Linked DNA regions of Homo sapiens: region 2 is linked to region 1. The links are contacts of gene promoters, found by promoter capture Hi-C in blood cells and fetal thymus (Javierre and others, 2016). All regions are on one chromosome and are shown on one strand. Each heading gives the region's core, a stretch centred on a gene start or on the middle of the fragment in contact. The rest is flanking DNA. Distances are from core to core; before and after follow the strand shown.

The links. Contacts are between HindIII fragments. The CHiCAGO score rates a contact against its expected background, and 5 or more counts as called.
Region 2: a contact is called between a fragment that was not itself captured here and the fragment with the promoter of ATP6V1H in region 1, in 1 of 17 cell types (total CD4 T cells). The highest score is 5.3, in total CD4 T cells.

What each region holds. Positions count from the first base shown.
Region 1 is chr8:53,839,697-53,844,538 of GRCh38, reverse strand. It overlaps ATP6V1H (ATPase H+ transporting V1 subunit H), which reads left to right and starts at 1,294. Exons shown (of 14, transcript NM_015941.4): 1 at 1,294-1,505; 2 at 2,814-2,961. The coding sequence starts at 2,849. RefSeq lists a silencer at 986-1,135 and an enhancer at 1,206-1,345. The HindIII fragment of the contact is 7,596 bases long and covers 1-4,842 here.
Region 2 is chr8:60,518,023-60,522,792 of GRCh38, reverse strand. The region is part of intron 1 of RAB2A (RAB2A, member RAS oncogene family); the gene reads right to left. Among named protein-coding and RNA genes, the nearest start is that of RAB2A, 3.4 kb to the right of the region's middle. RefSeq lists an enhancer at 4,373-4,562. The HindIII fragment of the contact is 2,639 bases long and covers 1,281-3,919 here.

The sequences.
Region 1 (4,842 bases), core at 45-2,544:
ACACAGAAAACATGCTGTTTCAGCTTTTGGGAGTTTCTTAGTACACGATCGGTTTCTTTTTCTCTTTTATGAAAGTTTTTCCCCTTAGATTTGCTTTCAAAACAACAGACTTTCACTTCTGGCTAAGACAGAATGAGTGACCTAGTACAATCTTTGACACTGTTATTATATATCTTTATTCATAATCAATGCATGATTTTGATTATTCTGACTTTAATTTTACGAGTAAAAATGGGTTGGTTATAAATCCCTTTCAAAGAATTTTTTTTTTTTCTTTTTGAGACGGAGTTTTGCTTTTTCTGCCCAGGCTGGAGTACAATGGTGCGGTCTTGGCTCACTGCAACCTCTGCCTCCTGGGTTCAAGTGATTTTCCTACCTCAGCCTCCCAAGCAGCTGGGATTACAGGCATGCGCCACCACACCCAGCTAATTTTTTGTATTTTTAGTAGAGATGGGGTTTCACCATGTTGGTCAGCTGGTCTCGAACTCCAGACCTCAGGTGATCCACTGGCCTCGGCCTCCCAAAGTGCTGGGATTACAGGAGTGAGCCACCGCGCCCGGCCCCTTTCATTGCTTTTTAAGGAAAACATGCTATCATATATACTTCACCTCCAGGGCAGTACATTCTTACTTTAAGGCAAAGACAGTTGCTGAGGCCTGGACTAGGGGAAAATTTGGGCTCCAGATGGGACTGTTGGATAAAATACCAGACGTCCTGTAAATGTGAATTTTAGATAAACAACGAATAACTTTTTAGTATAAAAGTAAATACTGCAATGGAATTTATTATTTGCTAAATGTGCAACCCTAGGTTAAGAGAGCTTTTCAGACCCACTTCTCAGCCCGAGTTTTCTATTTAAAATCAGAATAAGAACGCCTGCTTCATGGAGCTGTTAAATCCAAATGGAAATTAATTTGAAAGCGCGAAATCAAACTTTTCAAAAGAATGACGGTTACAATAAGAGCGTTTTGGCCTCTGCTAGCTGCTTCCGGGCGGAGGTCCTCGGCCTCCCCTAGGCGAGGCACTAGGTCTGGGGGCGGCGGGTCTTAGCGTGCCCGCCACGCTCGCCGCCTCCCACCTGCCCTGGCTGGCTGGGGCCCGACCCTTGCGTCGCTCCGGGGCCCAAGTTACGGACTCGGGAATCCAGTTGTCCGCACCGAACAAGCCCCGCCGCAGCGCCCGCCCCTCCTCTTGCTGCTTTGGAGTCTCCCGGCTTCCGCCTTCCGCAGCAGTCACGTGCCTCCGATCACGTGACCGGCGCCTCTGTCATTCTACTGCGGCCGCCCTGGCTTCCTTCTACCTGTGCGGCCCTCAACGTCTCCTTGGTGCGGGACCCGCTTCACTTTCGGCTCCCGGAGTCTCCCTCCACTGCTCAGACCTCTGGACCTGACAGGAGACGCCTACTTGGCTCTGACGCGGCGCCCCAGCCCGGCTGTGTCCCCGGCGCCCCGGACCACCCTCCCTGCCGGCTTTGGGTGCGTTGTGGGGTCCCGAGGATTCGCGAGGTAAGGCCGCCCTCGCGTTGTTTGGTCTCAGGCTGCAGACCAGGTCAGGCGACTCTTGCAGTTTCTCCAGCTTGCCTGGTGCGTGCTGGTGTCTCGCCGCTTGGTCCTCTCCTGTTCTTCGGCCCCCGGTTGCCAGATTGCTTTTCTTCCAGGCCTCAACCAGGTTTATTAAGCGAAATTCTGGAGCCTTTCTCGCAGGGGGAAGAAACGTCAGGGGCGGGCAGGAGAGTGGAGGGGGAGGGGTAAAAAGTATACCTTCTCCAGGACTGGGCCACGGCCCTGGATCGCTGGGGGTGCGAGTAGTTCAGGGACTTAGGTAATTGTCTAGAGACACCTTGAGCTACGCCAGGACGGGCCGCTGAGGCTGAGCCTCCTTGGCTGCAGAGTTCCAGCCTGGCCCAGTTGAAGCCTGTTTTTTCCTGGGCCCTGTCGTTCGCGCTGCCCAGGGTTGTTTATACAGCAAATCTTCAGATACAGAGATTAAGTTCCAAATTGATTAAGATCGTTGGAAACCCGGAATATAATTTTGGGTAGGATTTTAACTTCTTTGTGGCCATGGCCGTGAATTTATGTTTTGCAAGTGGCAACCTGTATTTTGCTTTGTGTTAAAATCAGTCGTTTGTATCTGGAAGTTTAGGAGTGAGAATTACATAGAATTTCATTATTGTAGGTTCTTGTCGTCCAGCCAGACCGCCATTGTTGGCTTACCTAAATTGTAATATGTATTTGTTCTAAAACTTTCTCTCCGAATTTTGATTTTGCAAATACTATGAATTTTGTTTGAAAAGGAAAGCACTGTCTTCTAAGAAATTATGTTCCCACTTTGTGTATTTTAATTTGAGTAATTTTCGAAAGGACTTAGAATTTTTAATGTGCCACTTCAAAATGATGCTTAGTAAATGTTTATAAAACTAGCCTTATCCGTACTATTCATATTCTTATTGTTTCTCTATGAGAAAAGTTAACCACAATTGTATAAATTTACAATTTTTCCCATATTTATACCTATTCTATTTAATCATGATTTCTGATTTCAGTATATTAGGTGATTGCTTTAAAAATCTTACTGCAGTGTTAGTGCCAATAATGAAAAAAATTTTTCTAGAAAAGCAAAAGCCTAAAGAACTCTTTTATGGAGCAGTGGACAATATTTGAAATATAATGATACTTTCAGACTTAGGACATTTAATATTTGAGTTGAATGCCTGGGGAGATTAAAGTGATCACGATATTCATAATCATAATATTAATAGTTGTAAAAAAAAGAAACACCTCGTATTCTGTTTTTACCTTGCATCAAAATTGAAGATTTGTTGAAAGACATTCAAGATTACGAAGTTTAGATGACCAAAATGGATATCCGAGGTGCTGTGGATGCTGCTGTCCCCACCAATATTATTGCTGCCAAGGCTGCAGAAGTTCGTGCAAACAAAGTCAACTGGCAATCCTATCTTCAGTAAGTACCAATTTGCTGTGAATCATGGACAGTCATATGCTTTTGCATCAGACTTTTTCATGGTCATGCTTCTATGAGAGAAATACAGGGAAAATACTGAAAAATGTGGAAGAAACACTTCCTCTTCAGAATAATTAGCTGTCTTAGGGAGTTAAGTGTAGTGGGGTGGAAACAGCTTGGCGCCCTAGTGGGGAAGCAGAGCGGCTTATGGTGCTTTTGACCTTCTCTGGCTGCCTGGGGAAGTACTTTTGGAATAAGTGGGAAACATAGGAGGAATGTCCTTGGGCTAACGGAGGGAGGAAGGGGATGAGGGGCAAAACCTGCTAGACTGGTCTGATATGCCCTGGCAATCAGCATGGGGGCAGGTGGCCTTTTTAGAGTGGTGCATACAACTAATAAGAAGCACAGATATTTGAGTTGAGAGACTTGGATTTGAGTTTTGGTTCTTGCTATTAGTTTGGTGATCTTAAGCAAATCACTTAACTTCTCTGAGGCTCAATAAAGTAAAATGTGAAATGGGGAGACATACCCCACAGGCTTGTTGCTGAAATAATGTATTTATTAGCACAGTAGAATACAAGCATTAGTATGTTGAATACAATACATTTTAGTTCCCCCTTCTTTCTTGTATGTATTAATATTTAATGTGCTGATGTTTCAGTATTTTGTATTTATCTATAAAGTGAGCATTCATGTATTCTTGACCATATTTTATTGACTTCATATTTATTTTGGTATATTTATAACTGAGTTACCAAGGAATTCAGTTCAGATTTGCATATGCATTTTGAAAAACAAATTGAGGAATCTAGTTTTATATTAGTGTTAATTTTATATTAGTATTAATAGTTTGTGTTGTTGTAGGAGGGATCTATAATGTACAAAAATGATCCTTTAATTTCTGTTAATTTAATCACTCATCAAACATTTATTGATTACCTGCCAAGTTTGAGGCATTTTTCCAGGCTTTGAGGCTACAAAAATTCCATACAGAGTACTGTCCCTGAAGGAACTAAAACTCTAGTAGGGAAGTCAGATGTATTAATAGATCATTTTAATTCACTATTTTTTTTTTTTTTTGAGACAGAGTCTCACTCTGTTGCCCAGGCTGGAGTACAGTGGGGCAGTCTTGGCTCACTGCATCCTCCGCCTCCCGGGTTCAAGCAGTTCTCCTTCCTCAGCCTCCCGAGTAGCTGGGATTACAGGCACCTGACACCTTGCCCGCCTAATTTTTTTGTATTTTTAGTAGAGACAGGGTTTCAACATGTTGGCCAGGCTGGTCTCGAACTCCTGACCTCGTGATCTGCCCCTCTTGGCCTCCCAAAGTGCTGGGATTACAGGCGTGAGCCACCGTGCCCGGCTCTAATTCAGTATGTTAACTGTGGCAATAGAAAGATGCACAGGGTCTGGCAGGTGCACATAAAAAAGACAAGTAATTCTACCCCTTGGAAATTTTCCTGAAGGGGCTGGTCCCTGAACTGAGTTTTTGAGGATGATGGGTATTTAGCCATGTGGCAAGTAGGAGCAGCCTTGGGAATAGAACAGATAATGTGAGCAAAGGCAGGGAAGCAAAAACAGCACACTGGGTGGGAGTCATACATGTTTTGGAGGCAGGCAATGCAGAGAGCTGAGGCTAGAGAGGCAGCCAGGGGCCGATCGTGAAGATGCTGTGTGTGGGTGTGTGGTTGGAAGGAGTTTGGACTTGATCCTATCAGTCAGTGCTTTTCAAGCTGATTTTTAAGCTGTGAAGCCCATGATTGATATGAAGTTAGCATGTAAAACAGATGAAAATGATAGAATGGAGGTGGGAGTGTGTGTCCCAGAGCCCTCTTTTTGAGACCATTCACCATTTTCCAAGGAGCTGTAGGTGTTGGAAACCAA
Region 2 (4,770 bases), core at 1,351-3,850, 6.7 Mb before region 1:
TCTTCCTTCTGTTTTTCTCTAGAGCTATTGAGAATCTAATCCCCTTCCTTCCCCAATCCTTCCCCAAATCCTCTACAACTTTGCTCCTTACCTCCCCTTCTCTTGTATTTAACCTTTCAACCTCAAGTCTCTCCTATCTTAAAATACAAACACACACTCACATTTATTCTTCAATAAAATAACCCATGCATGGTTCTACTTGTAACTTCCCAATAACTCTTTTTGTAAAACCACCAATACTATGTGTGATATTGTTTAAATTTTTTTTTAAAAAAGAAAGTAGGAGGACCCTACAATATAAAAAGCCCCATTTCACCAACACCAACTCTTTCAGTGTAATCAATATAAGCATATAATTCTACTCTCCTCCCCAGAAGTAACGGTTAAGTGTGTAGTCTTGGGACTTTTTTTATTTACACATATATAAAAATCCACAGTTTTTTAACAACATAAATGAAAATACACCTTAGTTCTCCCCCTCACTGACATCTGAATCAAACACTGTGTCAAAGCACTAATGTCTTCCTACCATTTCAACCAATAGTCCCTGACCTCTACTGCACATGACACTGGTAACCACTCCCTCTCTGGGATCTGCCTTCTCTGCAGATTCCATGACACTGTACTGCCCAGGTCTCTCTTGCTCTTTTGATTATTCCTTGTTAGCCTACTATGCTGATAACTTTCCCCATGTGCCCCATGAACACTAGTATTTCCCACCATTACATCCAAGCTTTCATCTGTCAATTCATTCAATGAACAATCACCACCTACTTCATTCCAGGAGGACAACTTTGTCAGATCCCCATTTGTCAATGGTTTTGCATGTGAACCAATGCTCCAAATCACTTGCATCAAAGAAACAAATGCTGCCTTGCCGCGGTGGCTCACACCTGTAATCCCAGCACTTAAGGAGGCCGAGGTGAGTGGACCACCTGAGGTCAGGAGTTCGAGACCCAGTCAGACCAACATGGCAAAACTCCATCTCTACTAAAAATACAAAAATCAGCTGGGCGTGGGGGCAGACGCCTGTAATCCCAGCTACTGGGGAGGCTGAGGCAGGAGAATCGCTTGAACCTAAGAGGTGGAGGTTGCAGTGAACCCAGATGGCGCCACTGCACTCCAGCCTGGGTGACAAGAGCAAAACTCCATCTCAAAAAAAAGAAACAAATGCTTGCAATTTTAGCATGATACATAATTTCACTTTGCAACTAATTTGAACTATATTATGATCAGCAAGCCCCTACGCCAATCAGGAGGATGGGAATTAGAAGTAAGCTTGAGTAGTTAATTTTTTAAGGTGATAACTTATTAATAATTATTTTCATATCATGAGAATTTTTCTTCCCTACATAACCTTGTAATTTCAAAAGCTCAGAAAATGAACTCTCAGGTAATAGGGACTCCATTTTATGTTATTAGCTCCCAAGTCTCTATCCCAGATTACTCTCTCCTGAGCCAGAAATAAACTTTCAACTACATACCAGACATTCCCCCATGCCCACTCTGGCGGTGCCTACTCATCATTCTAATTTCAGCTGAAACATCACCTAGTGCCTCCCCTCAAGGATCCATCCACTTAACTATTAAATAAATCTGACACTCAATGGTGTACCCTGGCATCTAAGACAAAGGCAAAGACCTTCCTAACTAAAAAGATAATTTAAAATGCAAGTGGGGCTGAGAGCTGTGGCTTGTGCTTGTAATCTGGCACTTTGGGAGGCTGAAGTGGGAGGATGGCTTAAGCCCAGGAGTTTGAGACCAGCCTGAGCAACACAGTGAGAGCCCATCTCTACAAAAATTTAAAAATTAGCCAGGCATGGTGGCATGTGCCTGTGTTCCCAGCTACTTGGAAGACTTAGGTGGGAGGATTGCTTAGGCCCAGGAGACTGAAGCTGTAGTGAGTGAGCCGTGATAGTGCCACTGCACTCCTGCCTGGGCAACAGAGATCATGTCTCAATAGATAGATAAATAATATAAGTAAAATAAAATAAAATGGAAGTGGTGGGTATATACATAAGAGTGAAAAATAAAAAATAAAATGTAAGTGGGACTGGGACTGAAGAGAAGGGAAACAGAATGAGGGAAGAGAGGAGGGGACCAGCATAAAATGCAACAGGGAGTGGTAGGATTTGTTAAACTCTCAAAAGAATGGATAAAAAGGAGTTGGCCAGGTGACAAAAATTTTTGACATAACTTTTTTTGATAGGGAAGAACAAGAAGGAGTGCTTCAGATATTAGCAGAAATAAGAACACAACCAAACCTGTGCCTTTGTTTACCTTGCTGAGCGTTGAGCAGCAGGGAGGGTTAGTGATAAGGTTAAAATGGTTGGCAGATGCTAGAATTTCAGAAGAAAAATTACTATAGATTCGTATTTTTTCTCTCCATGCTTGATAATTAACTGCTTATTAAAAACCACTTTCCACTTTACATCTAGATTTAAATGACACATTTTACTAAATGATTCAGAAACAAGACAGGAACAAGGAAAAAATTTAAAGCTACATTTTAACTGCATTTAGTCTTACAGTAAGAAAACAGCTCAATAGTATCATCATGATCATGTAAAAGTTTTTAAAACCTCTTCTATTAAAGAGGGAATTCTGAAAAGGAAAAATGTGCATTGTTCCTTTCCTTTGAGAAATCAAAGTACTTTCACATTTATCCTCATTTTATCCCACATACTGAGAGAAGGTTATAGGTTACGGAAACAGGGAAACAGAAAAATTAGGTGATTTCCTTCATTCTAAGATGCATGTTTTTGACCCTGACTTTTTAAAAAATCAAAGTGGATCTCACATTACTGATTTTAAAGTCATCTTTTCTAGGGGAGGGCCACACTGAGTGTATCTTACAACTATGGGTACACTCTGCATTAAAGAAATATGGTAAAGGATTTTGCCCAAATTAGTAAGCAAGAAGGTGGCAGAACTGGGCAACAACAACAACAACAACGACACCACTTCTGTTAAGTTATTAATATATACAAACAGGAATATAGTAGCCTGTTTGGCTCCTCTCTTATTAGTTAAATATACAGGGCCTACCTTCTACTACGCTCTTCCTGAAAGAAATACAGAGCCATACAAAACATCTTTTCTGACTTCAAGAAGTATATAATAGGTACCTACATAATAGAGGTGCCTATACAAGTATCTATACAACAGAAAAGTCTGGGATCAATATCAGAAGAATGACACAAAGTGAGAAACATAAATTCAGAAACGGAGTAGTCACTTTCAGCCAGGATACTGTGAAAATCTTCACACAATAAGAGCTTAATATATGTTGACTGTGAAGGCATTACGGAAAACTCAGATAAGACTTTGAAGGACTGATGGATCTTCCACAGGGAGAGATTGTGCCGGAAAGCACTCTAAGAATAGAGACTAGCAGTGCCCAGGAAAAAAACACCAAAATCAGTCACTGGGACTCAATGGCAGAAGCAAGGTGGGGAATAGCGGGAAAGAAGGCGAGAAATGTAGATAGGGGCTAAAATATAGAGTTCACTGAAGGTCAAACTAAAAATTGTGAGCAAACAGGAGTAGCCTTTTGACATTCATGCTTCAGGATGACTAAACTGACAGTAAACTACACTGGCTGAACTGGAGTAGGGAGAAGTACTGCTGCAGACTATAACAGTGTCAAGAATTCTGTTCCTGAACTAGGTCGTATCAGCAGCAATGACAAGAAAGAAGTGTCTTCCCTTTGAATTGCGTGGGGACTGCTTTTGGATAAGAGCAAATTCCAAGAGAACAGAGCATTAACTTGTTAGGATTTGTAGCCCCACTACTCCATGCACAATACTTTATTTATCCACAGTACAGCCTCAAATAAAAAACTGAAAAAAGGCAACCAGCAAAGTCTGATTTGAATTTTCACCACTAATGAGATAGCCAAATGCCACAGTCACAAGCTTCTATTTCTCAAACCCACTCATATTACAGTTAATGTGGCATTCCTCTCCAATCTTGTTTTTACAGCCTAAATGAAATTTTGCCAGAAGACTTTAGAATTCTCCTTCTTCCAAATACACCACAGCATTTTTCTTTTAAAGTTTACAAATCCAATTTCCACACACACACACACGCACGCACGCATCAGAAAACCTTGCTGAAAACTCATGTATCTAGCAGAAATTTTTTCTTTCAGGCAGCAATAAATATGCTTTTTTTTTTTTTTTTTTTTTTTTTTTGCAAACTCCACCTTCCGGGCTCAAGTGATCCTCCCGCCTCAGCCTCCCAAGTGGCTGGGATTACAGGCGCCTGCCACGACGCCCGGCTAACTTTTGTACTTTTAGTAGAGACGGGGTTTCACCACGTTGGCCAAGCAGGTCTCGAACTCCTGATCTCAGGTGATCCCCCACCTCGGCCTCCGAAAGTGCTGGGATTACAGGTGTGAGCCACCGCGTCCGGCCAACATGCTTCTTTAGTTACTTATAGAACCTGCCACATCATTAGTTCAACTACAAACTGCTGCTTACATGACCGAAGTTGTGCAAAGGGTCCAAAGTTGTGCAAGAGTAACCACTGAAATCAGACTCTGGTATATTAATAGTTGCAACATCTAAACAATCTTTATGTTTATTATTAGATTCAAAGTAATGCCAAATCACAGGTATTAAAAATATCTACGAAGAGTCTGTTTACTTTTCTGTGAAATATACTAGGACGTCATTTTAAGTGAGAATAACTGAATTTCTTTCAGCTCATGGACATGAGCTCACCTGAAAATTAGCAGTTGTGACACCGGACTTGACATATCTAAAA